Linked DNA regions of Homo sapiens: region 1 is linked to region 2. The links are contacts of gene promoters, found by promoter capture Hi-C in human tissues and cell types (Jung and others, 2019). All regions are on one chromosome and are shown on one strand. Each heading gives the region's core, a stretch centred on a gene start or on the middle of the fragment in contact. The rest is flanking DNA. Distances are from core to core; before and after follow the strand shown. Region 1 overlaps TTBK2 (tau tubulin kinase 2). Region 2 holds the start of LCMT2 (leucine carboxyl methyltransferase 2).

The links. The method cuts DNA at HindIII sites, captures the fragments that hold promoters and counts their contacts. A contact is called where the count stands out against the background at its distance.
Region 1: a fragment that was not itself captured here is called in contact with the fragment with the promoter of LCMT2 in region 2 in 2 of the 25 tissues and cell types used here (heart left ventricle and lymphoblastoid cells).

What each region holds. Positions count from the first base shown.
Region 1 is chr15:42,834,809-42,839,117 of GRCh38, forward strand. The region is part of intron 4 of TTBK2 (tau tubulin kinase 2); the gene reads right to left. Among named protein-coding and RNA genes, the nearest start is that of TTBK2, 84 kb to the right of the region's middle. The HindIII fragment of the contact is 5,937 bases long and covers 1-4,309 here.
Region 2 is chr15:43,328,592-43,333,205 of GRCh38, forward strand. LCMT2 (leucine carboxyl methyltransferase 2) reads right to left here and starts at 1,982. Exons shown (of 1, transcript NM_014793.5): 1 at 1-1,982. The coding sequence starts at 1,898. It overlaps MAPDA (N6-Methyl-AMP deaminase), which reads left to right and starts at 2,081. Exons shown (of 13, transcript NM_001324366.2): 1 at 2,081-2,268; 2 at 3,309-3,409. RefSeq lists enhancers at 1,890-2,840, 2,073-2,122. The HindIII fragment of the contact is 18,030 bases long and covers 1-4,614 here.

The DNA.
Region 1 (4,309 bases), core at 649-3,148, 490 kb before region 2:
AGAGGTTGCAGGGAGCCAAGATCGTGCCACTGCACTCCAGACTGGGCAACAGAGTGAGATTCCGTCTCAAAAAAATAAAACTGCAATAATTGAAAGACATCAAACATGTTAAATCCATGAATTTATGGATTTATTATATAGTTATATATTTATTATGTGTTTATATTAGGGAACCAATTCATTATTCTAAAAACTGATAAATAAAATAATCAAGTAGTAGTCCTGCCTTTCCTATATAAAATATACTTGAGGATAACCTAATAGTGAATGTAGTGGTTTTGAAGAAGAATTCTAGTAAACAAAAGAAGAATAAAATGATAGAACACTGTATTTGCAACCCCCATTAAAATAATGGATGATGATTACAAATGGGTTGATAAAACCATTAGGAGAAAAACCACTGGTAACTTTAAAATGGATGGATCAGACTGACAATGCTGAACTCACTGACCAATCTTAACCTCACTGAAAGACAGACAACCAGATACTGCCTCCTGATGTGATTCAAGAGGAAGCATACAACCCACCTCTGAAGTATCCTTGCAAAGTAAAACTGGAATCTTATATAATCATCAATTTATAGAAAATACAGGGGACAGAAATACATATTAAAGACAACCACAGGGAAACAACCAGCAAAATCCAGAATATGGTAATGTGTGCATGTCAAATTCCTCCATTTTTATCAACAACAATAAACACAATGAAAAGAAAATTGCAAGAAAATAAAAGACAGAGGGTGAACCAATTGATTAAAAGAGGCTTAAGAGATAAGCAATGTGTGAACCCTATTTGGAACTCAATTCAAATAAACCAAATGTAAAAAAAAAAATATTTATTAAAGAGATGGACGATCATTGAAACTGAAGATTGGTTTGATATTTGTGTTATTATTAAGGAATTATTATTAGGTATTGTGGTTACTTTAAGAAAAAAAAGAGTTCTTGTCTTCTAGAAATGTATATATAGATAAAATATGCCTTGGATTAGCTATTAATTTCGGGAGGGACAGGAGAAAGAGAAAATACTTGAAACAAGATTAGCCATATACTGATAGTTGTTGAAGTTGGGTAATGAGTAGATGGGTGTAAATTATACTATTCTCTCTACTTTGTGTATGTTTAATTTTTCCCATAATAAAAAGCTTTTAAAAGGTAGTAGGTGTTAGGCAATCTAGACCTACAGTTGTACTGGTTACAGCACTTGAAAAAATGTTTTGCACCTCTGTAGTTGATGTACTTATCACAATATATCACACTTTGGTTATACTAAAGATGCTCATATAAAGCTTCAGTGGTGACAAAATACTAGGTGAGACCTGGCTAAGGTCTTGTAAGGGGAATTCAGAAAAAAAAAATGTGTACAACTGCTTGAGCTCTGTAAGATTTTAAAAAACATTTTAATGGCAAATAGAATTTCTACAACAGAGATAAGGTTGTTCCTTAAAAATTTTTAAGGCAGATATTATGTAATTGAATCAGCAGGAGGAAAAGAACAAGTTTATCTTAAGAATAATGAATTTATGGTTTTTAGAATAAATTAGGACTCTCTGTGGGAAGCTGAATACATGGAGGAGACCCAGTAGTTATCTTCCATATGTCAAATAAGAGAAAATATGCTCTAGCGGTTATACCAGCTTTAGCCTAATCCCAAATCAAGTCAGCCACAAACTGTACAGATGGGAGTTTAAATGGGTTAACTTTCTTGTGACAGGAAAAAAATATAGCATGCAATTCAAATGGAAAAGTTCTTAGACAAATCCATAGGAACTTGCCAAAGGCCACAAAGGTCATCATTGCCTAATATACACCAGTCTCTTAGGTTTCCCAGTACCAGGAGCCTTCCCATTTACAGAAAGTCAGATTTAGGTAAGTACAAGAATGAAAATGAATATATGCTAAGACTCAGAAAGACTCTGCAGACTAAAGAAAAAAAGCTGCTTTATATAATTCTCCAGTCAATAGTAACCTGAGACAAAACAGTTTTCTCTTATTACTGCCTAAAGAATACTGGGTTCAGGCTTCCACCAAGCTTTAATACCCATCAAGTAGGCTAGTACCAGACAAATCACAAACCTCCTTGAGACTCAGCTTCTCCATGTACAAAAGAGGGATAAAACTTGTTCTCTCCTCCCCATGGGGGTATAATGAGGATCAAATAAGATGATAAATCCAGATGAAAACTATAAAATGTCACACAAAAAGTTATATTATTACTAGCCAAAATGAGAGAAAGCAGGATCCAAATTAATGATCTAAAAAGGTTCAGAGGCTGGGCGCGGTGGCTTACGTCTAGAATCCCAGGGCTTTGGGAGACCGAGGTGGGCAGATCACCTTAGGTCAGGGGTTCAAGACCAGCCTGGCCAACATGGTGAAACCGTCCCTACTAAAAATACAAAAATTAGACAGGTGTGGCGGCGCGCACCTGCAGTCCCAGCTACACCGGAGGCTGAGGCAGGAGAATCACTTGAACCTGGGAGGCGAAGGTTGCAGTGAGCTGAGATCACGCCACTGCACTCCAGCCTGGGTGACAAAGCGAGACTCCATCTCAAAAAAAAAAAAAAAAAAGGCCAGGCATGGTGGCTTACGCCTGTAATCCCAGCACTTTGGGAGGCCGAGGTAGGTGGATCACTTGAGGTCAGGAGTTCGAGACCAGCCTGGGCAAAATGGTGAAACCCAGTCTCTAATTAAAAACATAAAAATTAGCCAAGTGTGGTGGCGTGTGCCTGTAATCCCAACTACTTGAGAGACTGAGGCACAATAATCACTTGAACCCAGGAGGTGGAAGTTGCAGTGAGCCGAGATTGTGCCACTGCACTCCTGCCCGGTGACAGAGTGAGACTCTGTCTCAAAAAAAAAAAAAAAAAAAAAAAAGGTTCAGGGATAGCTGCTTAAGGAAATAAAACTAGGCTGGCTCAAGAGTTAGTGAATCACATGACTCAGAAAGACCTTAAGATTATAGTCTACAGACGTTAGTATCTTTAAATCTAAATGAAATCTGAAGGATGGCTGAGGGAAACAAGAAAAGCCTCCTGATGAGAAAAGGAAGCATTTAGGCCAGGATCTATGTCTCTAGAATCACTGTTATTTAGATAACTTGAAAGAAAATAAAGAAACCTGCTGGGCGCGGTGGCTCACACCTGTAATCCCAGCACTTTGGGAGGCTGAGGCAGGCGGATCGCCTGAGGTTAGGAGTTTAATGCCAGCCTGGCCAGCATGGTGAAACCCTGTCTCTACTAAAAATACAAAAAGTAGCGAGGCGTGGTGGCGACTACCTGTAATCCCAGCTATTCCAGAAGCTGAGGCAGGAGAATCGCTTGAACCCGGGAGGCGGAGGTTGCAGTGAGCCGAGATCGCGCCATTGCACTCAGCCTGGGTGATAGAGCGAGACTCTGTCTCAAAAAATAAAATAAAATAAAATAAAGAAACCAAATGCCCAAAACAACGTTTGCTTAAGATGAAAAGAAATACTGAGAATTCTAGATCTAGGCAGCAAGATCAAGATGAACCATGGTTTTTAAACTTTGAGGGTGACTATAATTCAGGGTGTGTGTGTGTGTGTGTGTGTGTGTATGTGTGTGTTTTCAGGGTCAGAGGTAGTGTCAGAAAAAATAGAAAGGTTTCCCTCTTCTCCCCACTATAGCCATTATTCCAATATTCCTTTTCTGAATTTCTTTCCTCTGCTCCCTCGACCTAACTCCACTACCATCTAAAGAACAGGGAACAGGCTGGGGGCAGTGGCTCACACCTGTAATCCTAACGCTTTGGGAAGCCAAGGCAGGCAGACCACCTGAGGTCAGGAGTTCAACGCCAGCCTGGCCAACATGATGAAATCCCATCTCTACTAAAAATACAGAAATTAGCCGGGCATGGTGGAGCACAGCTGTACTCCCAGCTACTTGGGAGGCTGAGGCAGAAGAATCGCTTGAACCTGGGAGACGGAGGTTTCAGTGAGCCAAGACTGCACTACTACACTCCAGCCTGGGTGACAGACCAAGACTCCATCTCAAAAAAAAAATATACAGGGAACAGAGTTATGTTACTGATGAAAAGAAAAAGAAAAAGGAATGGCATTTCTCCTCTATCTCAACTACTGCTTAAGTTTCAAGTAGACAAGACTTGCTATGGTTTTTTTCTTTTTCAATATTTATTTTAGGTTCGGGGGTATATGTGCAGGTTTGACACATGGGCAAATTGTGTGTTGCTGGGGTTTGGTGTGGAAACGATTTTGTCACACAGGTAGTGAGCACAGTATCCAACAGGTAGTTTTTCGACCCTCATCCTCCTTCTTTGCTCCACCCTCAAAGTAG
Region 2 (4,614 bases), core at 732-3,231:
TATGTTGTGTCAATCTGATACTCAGAGCTCAATCCTGTAGTCAAATTGATCACAGTCACTCCAGGAAATGAGGAGGAATGAATCCAGATCCCTCCAACCAGTAACAGCTTTCCATTGAGCACATGAGCTGTGTGGGAGTACCTTGGGGTAATGGGAGGCTGGATGTCTACTGACTCCCAGAGGAATCCACAAGAGATTGGTCTCAGAAAGAGCACAGAGTTCAATGGCTCCTCAGAAGCCCCGAGACCTCCAGCAATAAGGGCTCCCCCTTGCCAAGTGCAGGCACTGTGAGAATGCCGGGCTTCAGGTACTTCTCCCTCCACTGGGATCCTGACCCAAGCCATTGTCCCTACATGGAGGAAATGCCAGTCACTTAGTACAGGTTCCACCACGCTTCGACCCCCATACACAAACAAATATTCCTGATTCTGACAGGACACTTCTGTTGTTGAATGCCGCCAACAACACAAAGTGGAATCATCCTTTCGGCCAGCCTTTGTTATTGTCACTTTCAGGTCCTCAGTGTTATTATCCTCACTCTTAAAAAAATGAAGCTGGAGAACCCCCAAGGCTGGACTTACTGGGGACAGTCTCCCTCCCAGAACCAGAACCCGACTCTCTGAGAGTCTTGTCATGGTGTGATAAAGGCGTCCATCCCACTGAACTCCAGTCCCACAACTGCCTATTTGGCTGCCTTTCCATTCAGAGTCACAATCTCTTGAGAGCAAGTGAAACTGGCTCACTCGGCAGTGCCGCCCCTCCTGCTCTCCAAATCCTCCTGCACTGAGAATAACGTCTGGGCTCAAGAAGACAGAGGCGTGGCCATATCTCTTCAGGTTTGGGACCTGGCCCTCGCTACTGACTACGCTGGCAGGGAATACCCCTGAAGGCGAAGCAGGATTTACGCGAGGAAATGCCTCTGAGGATGGAAACACTAGGGTGTGGGAGAGGGTGTCTCCCCTAGAAGCTGCCAGAATGAAATAATGGGCGCACTTCAGATGCCACTCCTCAAATTCGTCAAAGGGTTCAATATTTTCCACCCGCCGGCGTTCTTCTGCGGGAAGAAAGCAGTGATAGAATTCATTCATGTCCACGGCACCGCAGGCGGTCCAGCCAGCTTGAAGGAAGCGGCGCCGCTGCGCCTCCACGTCAGGAAAACGCTCCAGGCCATGCAGGGGGGAGTTTAGCTGCCGAAAATGTTGCAGCATGAACTGGCCAAAGGCGTCTTGAGGCCTCATCTGCTCATAGACCACGAAAAGGGCATTAGGAAAACGCTGGGCTGCCCAGGCGATGAGGGCCGCGGCACTCTCCGGCTCGAGGTAGGTCAGCACCGCCTCGGCCAGGAGCAGAGTGGGTGAGGCTGCGTCGAGCCCCGCGGCGCCCAGGGCCTCCTCCACTCGCTGGAGCTGCCGCAAGTCCAGACCCAGGATGCAGTAGTCTGCGCTCTCAAAGCACAGCGCGGACGCGGGCTCCCCCCTCTCGAAAGGCCCGGTTAACGCGCACAGCTCTGGCGTCTCTCCAATCCTTTCTGCTTTGCGCCGCGCCACGTCCGGAAAATCCACCTCCCAGACTGCAGCCCGGGCCAGGCGGCCCGCGGTTTTTAAGCGAAAATAGAGCGAGTCGAAGCCAGCGCCGAGAGACAAGATCTGCGCGCGAAGCGCGGCCTGGGGCGCGCCAATCTGCTCCAAAAAAGCGCGCACGCAGTGCCTCACGGCGCGTGCGCGGACGTAGTAGCCTCGGTGAATGAGCGGTGCGCGGCGCGCCGCGCCCGGAACCAGCAACGCGGCAAAGGGGTCCTGCACGTACCCGCGCGCGGCCAGGGAACGCTTGCTGAGGGCGCTGCTGTCGTTGGTGTTCTGTACCGCGCCTGCCCGACGCTCACGGCTCCGGGGGCCCATGGCCAGAAGAGACTCAGGAATGGCAGTCTGTCACGGTTGTGAGCCGCCCCTTGGTTAGCACACACCTCACGGACCTCGGTAGGGGGAAAAAAACCACCCATGCTCCTGGACTTCCCCTTCCGCCGGCACTTGTGCGTCACTTCCGGGAAGAGCGCATCTCGCCAACCAGAATTGAGGAGGGTGTAGCCAGTGCTAAGTTCGCTTGCGGCTGACCTTTCTTTGGAATGTCGTGAGTTCCATTTGTCCCAGAATACGGTCCGCTACCGCTGTGACATGAGTGTTAGGGAAGGCGGGTTGTCACGTTTCTACAAGCCTTCCAGTCAAAAGGGAAACCTTGCCTAAGTCCTTGTAGTTGAGAAATCTCTAAGAGGTGAGTCTGTGGGGACTGACGACTTGGCTTCCTTGGACCGCCAAGGAAGGGTCTGGTAGGAGCCAAGAAGGGTCGGCACCACGGACCTTCAGTAGGCAAGGATTAGTTAGCTTCCTTGGGTGCTAATAGTTGCTGATTTATTTAATGCTCTCACAGTTGCAAAAGAGAACCCCATTTAAAACTTGAAAACAAGTCACTAAGGCCAGGGTGCAAACTGAAGAAACCGACCTTTACAAATAATTTATAGACACCTAACAAGAAGACGTTTCCCCACAGATAGTAGACTGTTGATTCCCTTGTATTCCCAGCCCTATGTTAGACTGACGGTGAATAAACCACTCAGCCTCTCTTTCTCATCACACCGCCTTGGAGAATTCTGTGGATTTTAAAGTAGTGTTGAATATGTCCCCAGAAAGGGGAGTCACTGAAGAGAGGTGATTGTTCCCTGTGATATGTTCTGAGCTTTGTTTTTAAGGAGTAAATCCAGGTTAGACTTCAGAATAATCATAAAGTTTCTAAATTGGGTGTCTGGGAGTCATCCATAGGAAACCACTTCCAGAGACATTTAGGAAATTTATCATTTGTTCACTGGGATTTGGTGACTGACTGGCTGAAATAGAAAAGGAAATCAGATAACTTTATGGTTAACTACAGGTGGTACTGCATAATGGTTAAGAGTGTGAGTTTTGGAGTCCAGCAGATTTGGATACTGGAGTCAAGAAAAAGTTTCGTATTTTCCAATGTTTTCTTGTGGAACAAAATGAAATAAGAAAGAAAAGGTTTGGATCAGGATAAAGATTCGGTAATTGAAAAGTGACATTTAGATTTGGTGTTTAAAAGCTCATTAATGGCCTTAGGGAGAGCAGTTTCTGTGGAGCAATAAGGGCAGAATCCATGTTTCAGTGAATAGGAGGTGAGTTAAAGGAGGTATCCAGTCTAAATTATTATACTTTCGAGGAGCTTAACTCAGAAGGAAAAAAGGGTCAGGGCAGTGGCTAAAGAATATTGTGGGATAAAAGAGTCTTTTGTTTTGTTTTCAGGTGGAAGCAAATACTGCACATGCGTGTTGGTCCTGTGAGGGAAACCAGCTAGTGGAGAGGGAGAGGTTGAAGGAACAGAAAAATGAGAAGACAACTCACTGGTAGAGTAACTTGGAATAGATAGAAATGGGATCCTGGGCACGTATTAGTTGTGGGGATAGGAGAATGAATCCTTTATCTGTGACTCCTGATGGGGTAAAAAAAAGATTATGGATAATCATAAGCTCAGGTGTGAGGTAGGGCAGAGAGAAAAAGAAGGAATTTGCACCTGATGGCTTCTGTTTTCTCTGTAAAGTTGGTGACAGAGTTGTCAGTTTAGTGTAAGGCATTCAGATCTGATGGAACATTTGAGCAGTTTGAGAATTGCTTCTGAAGGGATTAGAAGAAGGGCTCACCTATGCCTGCTGGGTCAGTGGATCCTCACCTCTAAAATGAGATTAAGTACTGCTTCGTGAGGTATCTCAGGGTTGATTGAGGGGCAAATAGAAAAAAAAAAAAAGTTGAAGGACTTTGAAAAATACGTAGCACCATAGAAACAAATTTATTTAATGACAGGTTCCTAAAATGTAGGTGTTATGTCAAAAATACTACTTGTTTTGCAAAGACCAGATCAAGAAAAGTAATTAAAGAAGAAAGAGAATGGAGTAAAATTTCTGATTTCGATGCCTTATGATTTAGGCCGGGGGAGGAGGGGCCATTGTTTAAATCTCAGTTTATTCTTATATAAAATGGGGATAATAATATCTCAGGGGTTGTTGTGAGGATTTAAACAAAATAACTATCTAAGACACCACAGTGCCTGGCTCATGGTAAGTGCATAATAAACAGTAACAAATTTTTTTTTATTCTGAGTTCCCTTTTGGGGGAGTAGGTGGGAGCATGAAAAAAGTTCCCTGGGAGACAGGATACTTGCTTCTGGCCCTGCTCTAATATTGATGAAGTATTACTAACGTGGATCTTATCCCAGTGTTTGTTGCCTTCCGTCCCAGAGCAAAACCAGTCCAGAAAAGTTAAATTTGTCATGGCATGCTGTTGTTGGTATCCATGTTTTAGGCAAGGAACAACAATTTTTTTTAATGTGTAAAGATTATGATTGCTTAGTTGCTTTTTAATTTCCATAGGTTAACATTGTAGCCAGTGGGTCAGTAAATTTACTCACAGCTAGTTAAAGGTCAGTCTGGAGGATGGTTTGAATGGGGCACAAATTAAGGTCAGGATCCTGGAGTAAAATTGAAAATCTGGCCGGGCGCAGTGGCTCGCTCCTGTAATCCCAGCTCAGGCTGGTGGATCACTTGAGCCCAGGAGT